Linked DNA regions of Homo sapiens: all the other regions are linked to region 4. The links are contacts of gene promoters, found by promoter capture Hi-C in blood cells and fetal thymus (Javierre and others, 2016). All regions are on one chromosome and are shown on one strand. Each heading gives the region's core, a stretch centred on a gene start or on the middle of the fragment in contact. The rest is flanking DNA. Distances are from core to core; before and after follow the strand shown. Region 1 overlaps GMEB2 (glucocorticoid modulatory element binding protein 2). Region 2 overlaps DNAJC5 (DnaJ heat shock protein family (Hsp40) member C5). Region 3 has its middle 4.5 kb from the start of HELZ2. Region 4 holds the start of LIME1 (Lck interacting transmembrane adaptor 1).

Region 1 (3,212 bases), core at 161-2,660, 140 kb after region 4:
CAGCACTTTGGGAGGCCGAGGCGGGTGAATCACCTGAGGTCAGGAGTTCGAGACCAGCGCAGCCAACATGGTGAAACCCCATCTCTGCGACAAATACAAAAAAATTGGCCAGGCATGGTGGCATGTGCCTGTACTCCCAGCTACTCGGGAGGCTGAGGCAAGAGAATCTCTTGAACCCGGGAGGCGGAGGTTGCAGTGAGCCCAAGATTGCACCAGTGCACTCCAGCCTGGACGACAGAGTGAGACTCCATCTCAAAAAAAAAAATTTTTTTTTTGCAATAAAGGCTATCATTGGAACAATTCATGAATTTGACTATGGACAATGGATTAGAGAATAATGTATGAATGATAATTTCCTGATGCGAGTTGTTCTGTGGCTGCGTAAGAGAAGCTTGTTCTTAGGAAATATACACAAGTGTTGAGGGCCCAGGGGCCCGACGTCTCTGCTTCACTCTCAGTAGCTGCACGTGCACAGGTCTAGGCGGGGGCAAGGGGGCAGACGGGAGCAGGCAGTGAGTCCGGAACGCACGTGTGAGAGCTCCCTGGACTATCCTGGCAATTACCCTGTGAGTTTGAAATTGTATTAGAATTAGAAGTTGGAAACACGAAAGAAATGTACCATAGGTGACATCATAATGAAATTCCAGAAGGACGGGGACAGAGAAGATCCTCAGTCTAGCCAGGAGGAGAGACGGATCGCTCAGTAGCAAGAATCCCGCCGGCCGTGAGCTCCCGAAAGCAGCGCAGGAGCAGAGGTGGCAGCGCCAGAGCCTCACTGTGTGGCGAGTGACGACACCGTGAGGTCGTCTTTGAAATTATGCTGGAAGAAAGACGTTTCCAGAAAAAGACACGAGTTTGCCACCAGCAGATCATGATGGAAGGATGTTCTAAATATGCATTGCAGGCGGAGATAGGAGGCCTCCAGATGGAAGCGCTGTGCTGTGAGGAGGTGTGAAGAGTCGGGGAAACGTGGGTCACCCGACCAGTCCTGTCTATTCAGCATCGAGAGAGACGCCCTGGAGGGCCTCAGAGATGAGAGCAGGGCCACGTGGCTGTGGTCTGGAGGGTCAGGAGCGGGCCGAGTTAGCTCCGGGGGGTCAGGAGCGGCCACGTTAGCTCCGGGGGGTCAGGAGCGGGCCGCGTTAGCGCTGGAGGGTCAGGAGCGGCTGCGTTAGCTCTGGGGGGTCAGGAGTGGCCGCGTTAGCTCTGGGCTCTGGCAGCTCTGGTAAGCGTGACATGCTGAAGCTCCTGGAGCCACTCATGAGAGTACAGCATGTAGCTTCCTAGCTGGGAGAGGAAAACCTGGGGTGAGAAGAGTAACAAAGGTGAAAGCAAGAAAGGAAAGAGGCAGGCCTAGGAGGGGCAGGGAGGTGAGGCTGGCTGAGCCCAGAGCCCTAGGTAGGATCAGGCCCTTTGGGTGCAGTTGAGTTTCCTAGGTGTGAGCCACGTTGGGTAGAAGTGATGGCCGGAAGCAGCCTCAGTCACAGCCAGTGCAGCCTTCCTGCCAGGCTCCGACAGTGGCCAGAGAATCTTCTGGATTCCACCTTCTGGACTTCTATGGGATCTCCCTGATCAGCCGCATGAGGGAGAGCCAGAGACTGGCTGGGCTTAGTGTTCCCGTCTGTGGCACAGGGGTCATGAGAGGGTGGGCTCAGGGATTGGGAACATCACTTCCTTCAGCAAGCTAGACTTGGGCACGGCCCGGGGGTGGAGGCGGCCCCCGTACTCGGGCCTCCTGGGTCCAGCTGCAGAGACCTCGTGACTCCTCCATCCCCAGCCTGCTTGTTTTCTAAGTAAATGCAGTTTTATTCCAGTTTTTGGTTTCAATAATTGCTTGTGTAACAAGATTGAACAGGATATTTTACCTTCTCAGTTTCTCTGAGCTCCCACATGGGTGAAATTAGCAAGCAGGAGGGTTCCCCTGGCTTAGAAACAGATGAGTGTGTGTGTGTGTGTGTGTGTGTGTGTGTCAGAGTGAGAGCAGGTGCCGGTGTTTGCTGCACGGGGCAAGGTGGTGTCAGGAGGGACCTGAGGAAGGTGGCGTTCACAGCTCCACCCATGTGCTGGCATCTGTTGCCATCTGCGATGTAACGTATGCAATAACGTGTATTTATAAAATACATTGCACAGAAGCAGTTTGCTTAGTCTGCCTGGAGGAAGAGAAGGCCACACACCTTCTACCTGGTGTGGTCAGCCCAGCCCTGTCTAGCCCCAGGCACACAGCAGCTCTGCCCCCTCAGGGCTGGAGGAGACACCACTCCCCACTGCAGCCACCGTGCCTGTGGGTCATGTCCTTGTTTTACCTGAATGCTCTGTAGGAGGCCTGCACCGGTCAGAGCCGTGCCGTGGCGCTTTTCCTGCCTTGCGCGCCTGACTCAGGGTCGGATGGGAGATGGGGGCACCCTATGTGGTGTCCCGGCCAAGCTTGACCCACATGACTGTGTCCCCCACAGTACGACGAGCATGTAATCAGCCCAAAGGAATTTGTGCACCTGGCCGGGAAGTCCACCCTGAAGGACTGGAAGAGAGCCATCCGCATGAACGGCATCATGCTCAGGTGGGCGCTGGCGCAGGGTCAGCCTCCCTGCTGGAAGGGGCCCTGGCAGCTCTTGCTTTCTTGTGGGGTTTTGGGATTTTGAAGATGAGGCGTATTTTAGATGTGGTGAGTGCTGACAACCTCCCGGGTGGCTGCTGCACCTGCTCACACCCAAAACTGTAAACCCGTCTCCCACACTCCTGCCAACAGGGACACTATCAGATTTTTAGAATTGTTTTGTCAGTCATTTTAATTTCCACCAATTCTTTACCTGAAGGCACTTGTGACTGTTTCAGCGTTGTAAAATAAAGGGTTGGCTGGGCACATGGCTCACACCTGCAATCCCAACACTTTAGGAGGCTGAGGCAGGAGGATCACTTGACGCCAAGAGTTTGAGACCAGCCTGGGCACAATAATGAGACCTCATCTCTACTAAAAATAAAAAAAAAATTATCTGGATTTGGTGACATATGCCTGTGGTCCCAGCTGCTCGAGAGGCTAAGGTGGAAGGATCACTGGAGCCTGGAAGTCAAGGCTGCAGTGAGCTGTGATTGTGCCACTGCAATACAGCTTGGGTTACAGAGTGAGACTCTGTCTCAAAAAAAAAAAAAAACAAGAATAAAAAGGAAAAGAAAAGGGTCTGTTCCAATTATGCATTCTGAAAATAAAAAATAAA
Region 2 (3,065 bases), core at 4-2,503, 200 kb before region 4:
AAGGCATAGCCGGGGGGAGCGGGGAGGGTGGTCCGACCCCGTCTTGGAGACGGAGGAGATTCCTGGGGCGCTGGGCGGACGGAGAGTTTTGCCGCAGCGCCTGTTAACCGCGGTCCCCTGGACCAGGAGAAACAGGGCCGACAACCCTCCCTGGCAAGGGTCTTGCTGCCCGCCACCCAGTGTCCAGTGCTCGGCTTGCTGTTAACATTTCTCTGTAAGAATCCCATATATAAAATACTTAACATAGGCCGGGCGCGCTGCCTCACACCTGTAATCCCAGCACTTTGGGAGGCCTACATAGGTTCGAGACCAGCCTGGCCAACATGGTGAAACCCCCGTCTCTACTAAAAATACAAAAAATTAGCTGGGCGTGGTGGCGCGCCTTTAGTCCCAGCTACTCGGGAGGCTGAGGTACAAGAATCGCTTGAACGCAGGAGGCGGAAGCTGCAGTGAACCGAGATCGCGCCATTGCACACCAGCCTGGATGACAGAGCAAGACTCTGTCTCAAAGGAAAAAGAAAAAAAAAACTGAACTTAATAAACGTGGATTCTACTTAATTAAGAAAATTCAAAGACCAAGCCAGAAAAAAACGTCTGACAACGCTAAGGCTAGAAGGGGCAGCGAGAAGATGGGGAGCCTCTTTGCAGGGCAGTGTGGGGCCACCAGTCAAGGGAAGGCTTCCAGATCCCGCTCCCAGCGATCCCACCCGAGACAACTCAGCAGCGACATTCAGGCAGCTTTGTTTCCACAGTGAGAAACTAAAAACCTGTGGTCAGTTTGCCCAGGACCGACTGTGATTAATTCGTGACTGTTCTGTACAGAAGCTAAAATGAACCAGACCTAATATAACCACACGGCTTGATTTCTTAACTACTACTGTATCAAATGAAAAACTTAGGCCTGGTGCAGTGGCTCACGCCTGTAATCCCAGCACCCTGGGAGGCCGAGGCGGGCGGATTACCTGAGGTCCGGAGTTCAAGATCAGGCTGGCCAACATGGTGAAACCCCGTCTACTAAATACAAAAAGTTAGCCAGGCGTGGTGGCACATGCCTGTAATCCCAGCTACTCAGGAGGCTGAGGCACAAGAATCACTTCAACCCAGGAGATGAAGGTTGTAGTGAGCCGAGATTGTGCCACTGCACTCCAGCCTGGGCCACAAAGACTCCGTCTCAAAAACAAAAACAGGCCGGGCGCGGTGGCTCATGCCTGTAATCCCAGCACTTTGGGAGGCCGAGGTGGGCAGATCACAAGGTCAGGAGATCCGAGACCATCCTGGCTAACACGGTGAAACCCCATCTCCACTAAAAATACAAAAAATTAGCCAGGCGTGGTGGCGGGCGCCTGTAGTCCCAGCTACTCGGGAGGGTGAGGCATGCGTTTTCCTAAATGGCGTGAACCCAGGAGGCGGAGGTTGCAGTGAGCCAAGATCGCGCCACTGCACTCCAGCCTGGGTGACAGAGCGAGACTCCATCTCAAAAAAAAAAAAAACAAACAAACTCATAAGGCAGGTGGTGTACTCAGTACTATGGTGTAGTACAATTTATGTAAAAAGGTATAAACCAATAGTACGTCTTACTGGACCTGACAGTGGTAGACAGAGTTTAAAGCTATGGAAGCAGAGGATGGAAATGGGGAGAGACGCAAAACGGTCTTGGATGCTGCCATTTTTTTAAAATGGAAAATCTGACTCAAATTTTTTTTTTTTTTTGAGACGGAGTCTCGCTCTCCCACCCAGGCTGGAGAGCGGTGGCACGATCTCGGTGCGTTGCAACCTCCACCTCCCGGGTTCTAGCGATTCTCCTGCCTAAGCCTCTTGAGTAGCTGGGACTACAGGCACGCACCACCACGCTCAGCTAATTTTTTTTGTATTTTCAGTAAAGACGGGGTTTCACCATGTTGGCCAGGATGGTCTCAGATCTCCTGACCTCATGATCCACCCACCTCGGCCTCCCAAAGTGCTGGGGATTACAAGCGTGAGCCACCATGCCTGGCCCTTCCTTCGTTTTTCTTAAGTCAGAATAGAGGATTTCAAGATGTTTGTTACGTTATTCTGAGTTTTTGTTAGTTTGTTGACAGGATCTCCCTCTGTCACCCAGGCTGGAGTTCGGTGGTGTGACCACAGCTCACTGTAGCGTGGACTTCCCATGCTCAAGTGATTTCCCTCCTGACGAGCTGGGACCTCAGGCACGGCTACACCCAGATAATTTTAAACTCTTTTTTGTAGAGACACGATCTCACTGTTGCCCAGGTTGGTCTTGAACTCCTGGGCTCAAAGCAATCCTCCCACACTGGCCTCCCAAAGTGCTGGGATTATAGGCATGAGCCACCACGCTTGGCCTCTTTGCTCCAGTCTTGGTATTTAGAAAACGGAGGTGAAAACACAATCAAGAGGAGGGGGCATTTATCCACATCTGGACCAGGCAGGAGGGAAGCAAGGTTCCAGCCGCAAGGGGTGTGGAGGGCTGAGATCAGCTGCTGCTCTCCAAAACCAGGGATCTGCGGGACTAGCGAGTAAGACATACGTGGGGTCCGCAGTGAAAACATTTATTTTACAACAGTAATCTTTATTTTAGGCCAACATTCAGACATACAAGACGGAGATCACCATGCGGAACCAGCCTGGCCCTTAGATGTGTGTGCTCGAGCCAGGATCAGCCGGAGTCTGACAGCGCCTGCACCCCAACACGGTCGGATTCCAGGACGCCAGTGACAAAACCAGTGCATGGACAAGCAGCTTCCATGCGTGTGCATTTGATTTTTAAAAACAATACATATTTCAGTGTTAACTTCCCCCCTCACCTGGCTTGAAACATTTTCCCCATTTTCCAGGGAAACAAACTCTACCAAAAGGTGCCGCCTGCAGGACCCCGGGCCCAGCCCCTTCTGGAGGTGGTGCTGTGTGGACTCCTCTGGGGCGGACCCGGGGCCAGCACAGGGCCCCTTCCCAGGCCGCCCTTCAGATGCAGCTTTGCCACTGACCGTATCTGCTGCTCAGAAAATCAGCTTTCATGTTTCAAGGCAGGGAAGGGCTTCCAGTCCCCTCCTCGATTTCACACCGGGACA
Region 3 (3,192 bases), core at 311-2,810, 160 kb after region 4:
GGAGACACCATCAATTTATAGACATTGTTGTTAACCTGGAGACATTGTTGTCAACCTGGAGACACCATCAATTCATAGACGTTGTTGTCTACCTGGAGACATTATTGTTAACCTGGAGACACCATCTATTCATAGGCATTGTTGTCAACCTGGAGACACCGTCTATTCATAGACATTGTTGTTAACCTGGAAACATTGTTGTCAACCTGGAGACACCATCAATTCATAGACATTGTTGTCTACCTGGAGACACCGTCTTTTCATAGACATTGTTGTTAACCTGGAGACATTGTTGTCTACCTGGAGACACTGTTGTCAACCTGGAGACACCATCAATTCATAGACATTGTTGTCAACCTGGAGACACCATCAATTCATAGACATTGTTGTCTACCTGGAGACATTGTTGTTAACCTGGAGACATTGTTGTTAACCTGGAGACACCGTCAATTCATAGACGTTGTTGTCTACCTGGAGACACCATCTAGCTGGAGACGCCATCTGTCCTTAGACATCCTCATCTACCTGGAGATGTCCACACAAGGCTGCTGCCCACTCCCCATGCCAATCTCAAGCCCCGGGTGCTTCAGACCAATTGGCTATAAATTGAGGTTCCTAACCCCCATATTTGGGTCAGATTAATTTCCTAGAGCAGCTCACAGAACTCAGGGAAACATGTTTACCCATTTATTATAAAGGACGTTACAAAGGACGCAGATGAAGAGATGCGTAAGGGGAGGGGCGCAGAGCTTTCACCCCACAAGGGCACCCCGTCCAGGAACCTCCACGGCTCTCTGAGCCCTGTCCTTTTGCGACTTCATGGAGGCTTCATTACCCAGGCATGATTGATTACGTCACTGGCCACTGGTGAGGACCGCCTTCAGCCGCCTCTCCCCTCCCCTGCCTGGAGGTTGGGGCAAGGCTGCAAGTACCACCCTCTACTCCTGCTGAGGCCTTTCTGAGGACCAGCCCCATCCTGAGGCTGCCTCCAGGCTGCCAGCCTTCGGTCAATATCAGCACAAAAAGGCACTTGCCACTTTGGCTACTCCAGGGATTTTAGGGGTTTTTGCCAGGAAACGGGACGAGACCAAATATGTTAATGTATATTTCACAATGTCACACGCACATGGCTGTGTGTGCAGAGGCCAGGCAGGGAGAGAGGACAGAGCAGCTGGGAGGCCCCGGGGGGCGTAGACCCATCCTGGGACTAAACCCCCATCAGATCCTTCTGGCACCCCTGCAAGGAGAAGGTGTGGTCCCCCTGACTTTCTCCCCAGGGGCTCATCTCGAAGGAGGCCTCCCGGCTGCACGGCTCCCACAAGGCCAAGAGGAGGAGATCTGAAATCGGCTCCACTCCCTCCCACTGCAGACCCTATCACCTCCTCCACTAGGGGTGTGAGCTTTTGGCTGGTGGGAGGGCGCCCGGGAGGGTCTCTGGAAAGATGGGAACCGGGTGTTAAAGACCTGCTTAAGCGAGTTATACCCAGAGGCCGTCAGTTCCTGCCCGAGAGCACATGGCCCACAGTCACAGGTAAACTGAGGCCTGGCCCTAAGCCCTGGGGACCTCCACCTGCTTCGTGACGCTGGGGACAGTGTGTACGTTTTCCTGCAGGGTTCAGGTGATGGCAGACGGCAGAGGGCAGCAGACGGCAGGCTGGCACTGGGGGGCCATGGAACCCACTGGCAGGGACGCTGGGTGAGGAGGACCTAGGGACCGGGATGAGACAAGCTGAGGGTGTTGGGCAGACATTTCTTACTTTGTATTTTGATATAATAATTTAAACAAACGTACACAAATGTTGCAAAAATAGAACAAAGGACTCCCTGTGCTCTATGCGGACTCACCAGTCGCTTTGTTCTGGCCCATTTGCCGGTTCTGTAGAAGCCTGTAGTTCCAGGCAATTGAGACTAAGACACGATACCCCTTCACCTTTCAGATACGATACCCCTTCACCCTTCACCCTTCACCCTTTACCCCATCACTTCAAGGTGTGTTTCCTCAGAACGTGGAAGCTGTCTGTTACAAAGTCAGGAAGCTGACGTGGATACAATAATATTACTAATACTCAGCCCGTGTGAGCGTGTTGTTGGCCGTGTGCTGTGTGTACGTGGAACTCTCTCCCGTGGTCTCACACTCAGCCCGTGTGAGCGTGTTGTTGGCCGTGTGCTGTGTGTACGTGGAACTCTGTCCCGTGGTCTCACACTCAGCCCGTGTGAGCGTGTTGTTGGCCGTGTGCTGTGTGTACGTGGAACTCTGTCCCGTGGTGTCACACTCAGCCCGTGTGAGCGTGTTGGCCGTGTGCTGTGTGTACGTGGAACTCTCTCCCGTGGTCTCACACTCAGCCCGTGTTAGGGGTCACTGTGGCCTGAGCACAGCTGGACGGGAGCCAGAGAGCTGTCCACGGCAACCTGCAGGTTTTCAATGCTCTGTGGACTCGAGGTGGCACTTTTTGTTTTTGTTTTGAGTTAAGAAGACGTGCACAGATGTGAAAGGTGGGCGGAAACAGGACATCTCCCTCCTGTCCTGGCCGCACAGTCCTGATCTGTCTCCCAGGCTGGAGTGCACTGGCACCATCACAGCTTACTGAGGTCTTGAACTCCTGGGCTCAAGTGATCCTCCCGCCTCAGCCTACCAAATTGCTGGGATCACAGGTGTGAGCCACCGTGCCTGGCCAACCTCATTTTTAATGGCCTTAGAGTCTTCCATGGCACAGGGTGGAGACTGCCCATTACATAGACCCTGAGCGAGGGGCCCTGGGCATTCCCGGTCCATTGGGTGTAGAAGGAGCTGCCGGGAGCTGTTGGTGGGCACAGATGTCCCTCTGTGCAGGAGCCTCTGTGGAGCCACGTGGAAGGCGCGTGTCCTGTGCTCCCGGGCCTGGCTGGTTTCCAGAGCGGTGCTGCCAGTTTAGACTCTGGCCGAGTGCCTGCAATGTCAGAGGGGTGGACGGGTTGTCTGGGGCTGGTTTGCGTTTCCCTTACGCCGAGGTTGAACACTTCACTCCATTTACAGCAATTTCACTTTCCACGTTTTGTGAAGTATTGATTTGCATCCTTTGCCTATTTTTCTTTTAAATTATACATCTTTTTCTTAATTTATAAGATCTTTAAAATATTAGAGAGATCAGGGCCAGGCGCGGTGGCTCACGCCTGTAATCTCAGCACTTTGGGAGGCCGAGGTGGGTGGATCAC
Region 4 (2,920 bases), core at 371-2,870:
CTGGTGTGGGAAGGCAGAGGGGGCTGCCTGCGGTCCGGTGATGTCCCTGGACACCTCCAGCCAGTGTGGGCGCAGGAGATCCATGCTGGCAGGCCGCAGGGCTGGGGGTGGGGTCAGGGCAGAGTTCACTCCGGGCAGGGGGCAGGAGCGGGTCTGGCCCAGGGGTTGGCACGCGCTGCACAGTAAGCCCCGCCCGGCCGCCCCCGCCCCGCCCTCTGCTCACCCCTGCTGCTGCGCGGGCCCCGGTGCAGCTCGTGCAGTCTGGTGTCCGACTTGCTGAGGGAGCAGAGGTGGGTCCGCCTCAGTAGGGACTGGGGGCGAGGAAGGCTGGTCGGTGCCCTGCGGACCCCACCCTGGTCCCCGGGACAGCCTGGCACTCACCGCTTCCGCCGCCGTCGCACTGCCCTGCAGCCTCGCCCGCTGCCTCCGCGCCCTCTTCCTGGGGGCTACAGCGTCCTCGGGCCTTGGGGGTAGAGGTGGGGGGCGGGGGGCGGGGTCGTCAGCCTCGGGTCCAAGGCCCGGTGCAGGCGCGCGTGCCGAGCTGGGTGCGCGGACCTGCCTCCAGCCCCTTCCCGCGCTGGGCTGTGAATGGCAGCCGCAGCGAGGCCCCAGACAGAACGCGGCTGAGGGACCTACCTGCGGCAGGCTGTGCACAGCGCCCACAGCGAGAGGAGCAGGGCGCAGCACCCTAGAACCCAGAGGGCAGGAGGGGCCCAGGACACTGGCAGCCCCATCCTGTGAAGCCGAGGCCCTGGGGACAGAAGAAAGGGGCGCTGGGGGCTGGCCAAGGGGACCTGGCGCCACCTGGCAGCCCCAAATCTGCACCTCCCGCGGCTGCGGGGCTCCTGCGTCTCCCGTTCCAGCTCTGACTCAGCACAGGAAGCCCCAAGGCCTGGCAGTCCCTCCCTCCCAGAGGTGCCCACCTTCTGGCGGGGGCTCCCGGTGAGGTGAACTAGGGCTGCTCTGCCTGGCCCCTCCGTGTCCCTGCGGGTGACCACGGTAACACCCAGCACGGCCGTGAGGAGGGGCAAGACAGCTGTGGCCACCATAGCCCAGATAGTAACCAGCATCGGGGGAGCCCCTGGGTGTGCGCCACAGGCCACAGACTCCACCTGCAGCCACCCTCTGCCCAGACATGGTCTCCTGTGTCAGGTAGTGCCCCCAAGCCGCTCGCTGCGGAGCCCAGAACTGGGAAGAGCTGGAGGCTGGTCAGCAGGAGGGACCCTGCACCCGGAGGAGCTGGAGGCTGGGTCAGCAGGCAGCAGCAGCTGCTGGGGGTGCTGATGCCCCCACCCCACTTCTCTCTGGCTCTTCTTGTCTGCCAGTGTCTCTGCCAGAGAGGATCTGTCCCCTTCTTGGGGATCTTAGCAGAACTTCTCGGGGTGGGGGATGCCTTACAAACAGCACAGTCCAGCAGCAGAGACAGAAGCTGGGGGGTGAGGGGTGGTCTCTGGAGTTTGGGGCCAGTCTGCTCAGACCCAGGGAGTGGGCTTCAGCCTGGCTGACTGACCCAGCTGCAGCCACATCCCAAGGCCTCCCAGACCCCAGCTGCCCCCCAGGAGGGCACTTACCAAGCCCACGGCCAGGGGTCCTCAGCTCTGTCTGGGGCAGGCCAGGAAGGTCTTTGTGCAGCCCTCGGCTGAGCTCCCCACCTCATCACTTCCTGCTCCTGTCGCCAAGCGCCTCCCCTGAGCCTCCCACCCTGGGCAGCAGCCACCACCGCAGCCTCACCCACCTGCTGCGCCCCGCCCGAAGCCTAGATGAAACGTGTGCGCCTCTAGCCCGCACTGTTCTGACAGCCTAACTCACAACCCCTCCACACACGAAGACGTGAGCAGAGCTGGCACAGAACCCCCAAACCCACAGGGCCAGGTCCGCCTGCCTCACCAAGAGTGCCCCACGTGGTGGGCCACAGTCCTCTCCCGCCCGTCTCGCCCGCTGGAGCAGCACTGAGCTCCACCCATCTGTGGGTGTCAGGCAGCCTGGCGGGCACCCTGGCCTCCGATCTGCCTTGGTCAGAGAAGGGTAAGAAGGGAGAATGCCGGCCTCCTAGGCCCCTCCAGCCCAGCCCGTCTCTCACCACAGCCCTGCACAGACCCTTCTCTCCCCAGAGACCCTGCAGCCAGCTGATCTCCACTGAATGACACTGTGATGAAATCACTTTAATGTCCTTGCCAAGGAAATGCCCAAGACACTGGCAGGTGGGCAAGTAAGTGTCCAGATGGGACCCCGCAGCTCTGTCTCCACTCAGCAGTGTCTGCACGCCCCAGGCCAGCAGGCCGGCCCCTCCTCGGGCAACACTGGTCTTCCTGAGGGCAGCCCGTGCTGGGGTCCCACGCTTCGTCCATAGTGCTTGTGGGGTCTCTAGAACTCAGTCATCTTCTTGTGGGTGTCTGCCTTCCTCTGCTCCTGCTGCAGGCCGGCTTCCTGAGCCCGGAGCTGCCCCAGCTGGCGCTGGGCTCCTGCCAGCTTCTCCTGCAGCTGGGCTGACGCCACGCTATGCCTGCGGAGGGGCTCACTAGTCAGCGTGGGGTCCTGGGCCATGCCACCAACCCCAGTCTGCCGTACCCACTGCCTGTGTGCCCGCTGCCCGTCCTCCAACATGCAGACCCCTCCTGGACTCAGCCCGCTATGCTTGGGTCAGGTGACCTCCAGCATGTATCCCGGGGGCAGGGCCACCCTGGGTCGCCCTTTGCCCTGAGCTGGGCCCCACACGTACCGGCCAGCGTTGCGGGCGAGAGCCTCCTGGATGCTCCTGATGTCCCGCTGGGTTCGCTCGATCTTCTCCTCAGTCTGGAAGAGCCGCAGGCTCAGGGCCCGCTTGGCACTCTTGCTGGCATGGTACATGTCCTTGCTCCTCCTCCCCGCTGGGGCCGCCCCGGCTTCTAGGGCCCCAGGAGCCTGACCTTGCAGCTTTTCA

Evidence for each region. The method cuts DNA at HindIII sites, captures the fragments that hold promoters and counts their contacts. A CHiCAGO score of 5 or more calls a contact.
Region 1: a contact is called between a fragment that was not itself captured here and the fragment with the promoter of LIME1 in region 4, in 1 of 17 cell types (monocytes). The highest score is 5.9, in monocytes.
Region 2: a contact is called between a fragment that was not itself captured here and the fragment with the promoter of LIME1 in region 4, in 1 of 17 cell types (monocytes). The highest score is 6.0, in monocytes.
Region 3: a fragment that was not itself captured here is called in contact with the fragment with the promoter of LIME1 in region 4 in 5 of 17 cell types (naive CD4 T cells, M2 macrophages, monocytes and 2 more); the score reaches 7.4 in naive CD4 T cells.

Annotation. Positions count from the first base shown.
Region 1 is chr20:63,597,102-63,600,313 of GRCh38, reverse strand. GMEB2 (glucocorticoid modulatory element binding protein 2) reads left to right here. Exons shown (of 10, transcript NM_012384.5): 5 at 2,454-2,557. Among named protein-coding and RNA genes, the nearest start is that of HELZ2, 24 kb to the right of the region's middle. RefSeq lists an enhancer at 2,339-2,508. The HindIII fragment of the contact is 2,033 bases long and covers 394-2,426 here.
Region 2 is chr20:63,935,492-63,938,556 of GRCh38, reverse strand. It overlaps DNAJC5 (DnaJ heat shock protein family (Hsp40) member C5), which reads right to left. Exons shown (of 5, transcript NM_025219.3): 5 at 2,546-3,065. Among named protein-coding and RNA genes, the nearest start is that of MIR1914, 4.5 kb to the left of the region's middle. The HindIII fragment of the contact is 5,075 bases long and covers 1-3,065 here.
Region 3 is chr20:63,577,171-63,580,362 of GRCh38, reverse strand. No RefSeq gene overlaps it. Among named protein-coding and RNA genes, the nearest start is that of HELZ2, 4.5 kb to the right of the region's middle. The HindIII fragment of the contact is 4,805 bases long and covers 1-3,192 here.
Region 4 is chr20:63,735,364-63,738,283 of GRCh38, reverse strand. LIME1 (Lck interacting transmembrane adaptor 1) reads right to left here and starts at 1,620. Exons shown (of 6, transcript NM_017806.4): 1 at 1,572-1,620; 2 at 637-751; 3 at 382-463; 4 at 224-311; 5 at 1-101. The coding sequence starts at 734. ZGPAT (zinc finger CCCH-type and G-patch domain containing) reads right to left here. Exons shown (of 7, transcript NM_181485.3): 6 at 2,720-2,920; 7 at 2,142-2,503. The coding sequence ends at 2,365. RefSeq lists silencers at 5-64, 145-294, 365-584 and enhancers at 1-319, 519-1,435, 2,015-2,194. The HindIII fragment of the contact is 14,127 bases long and covers 1-2,920 here.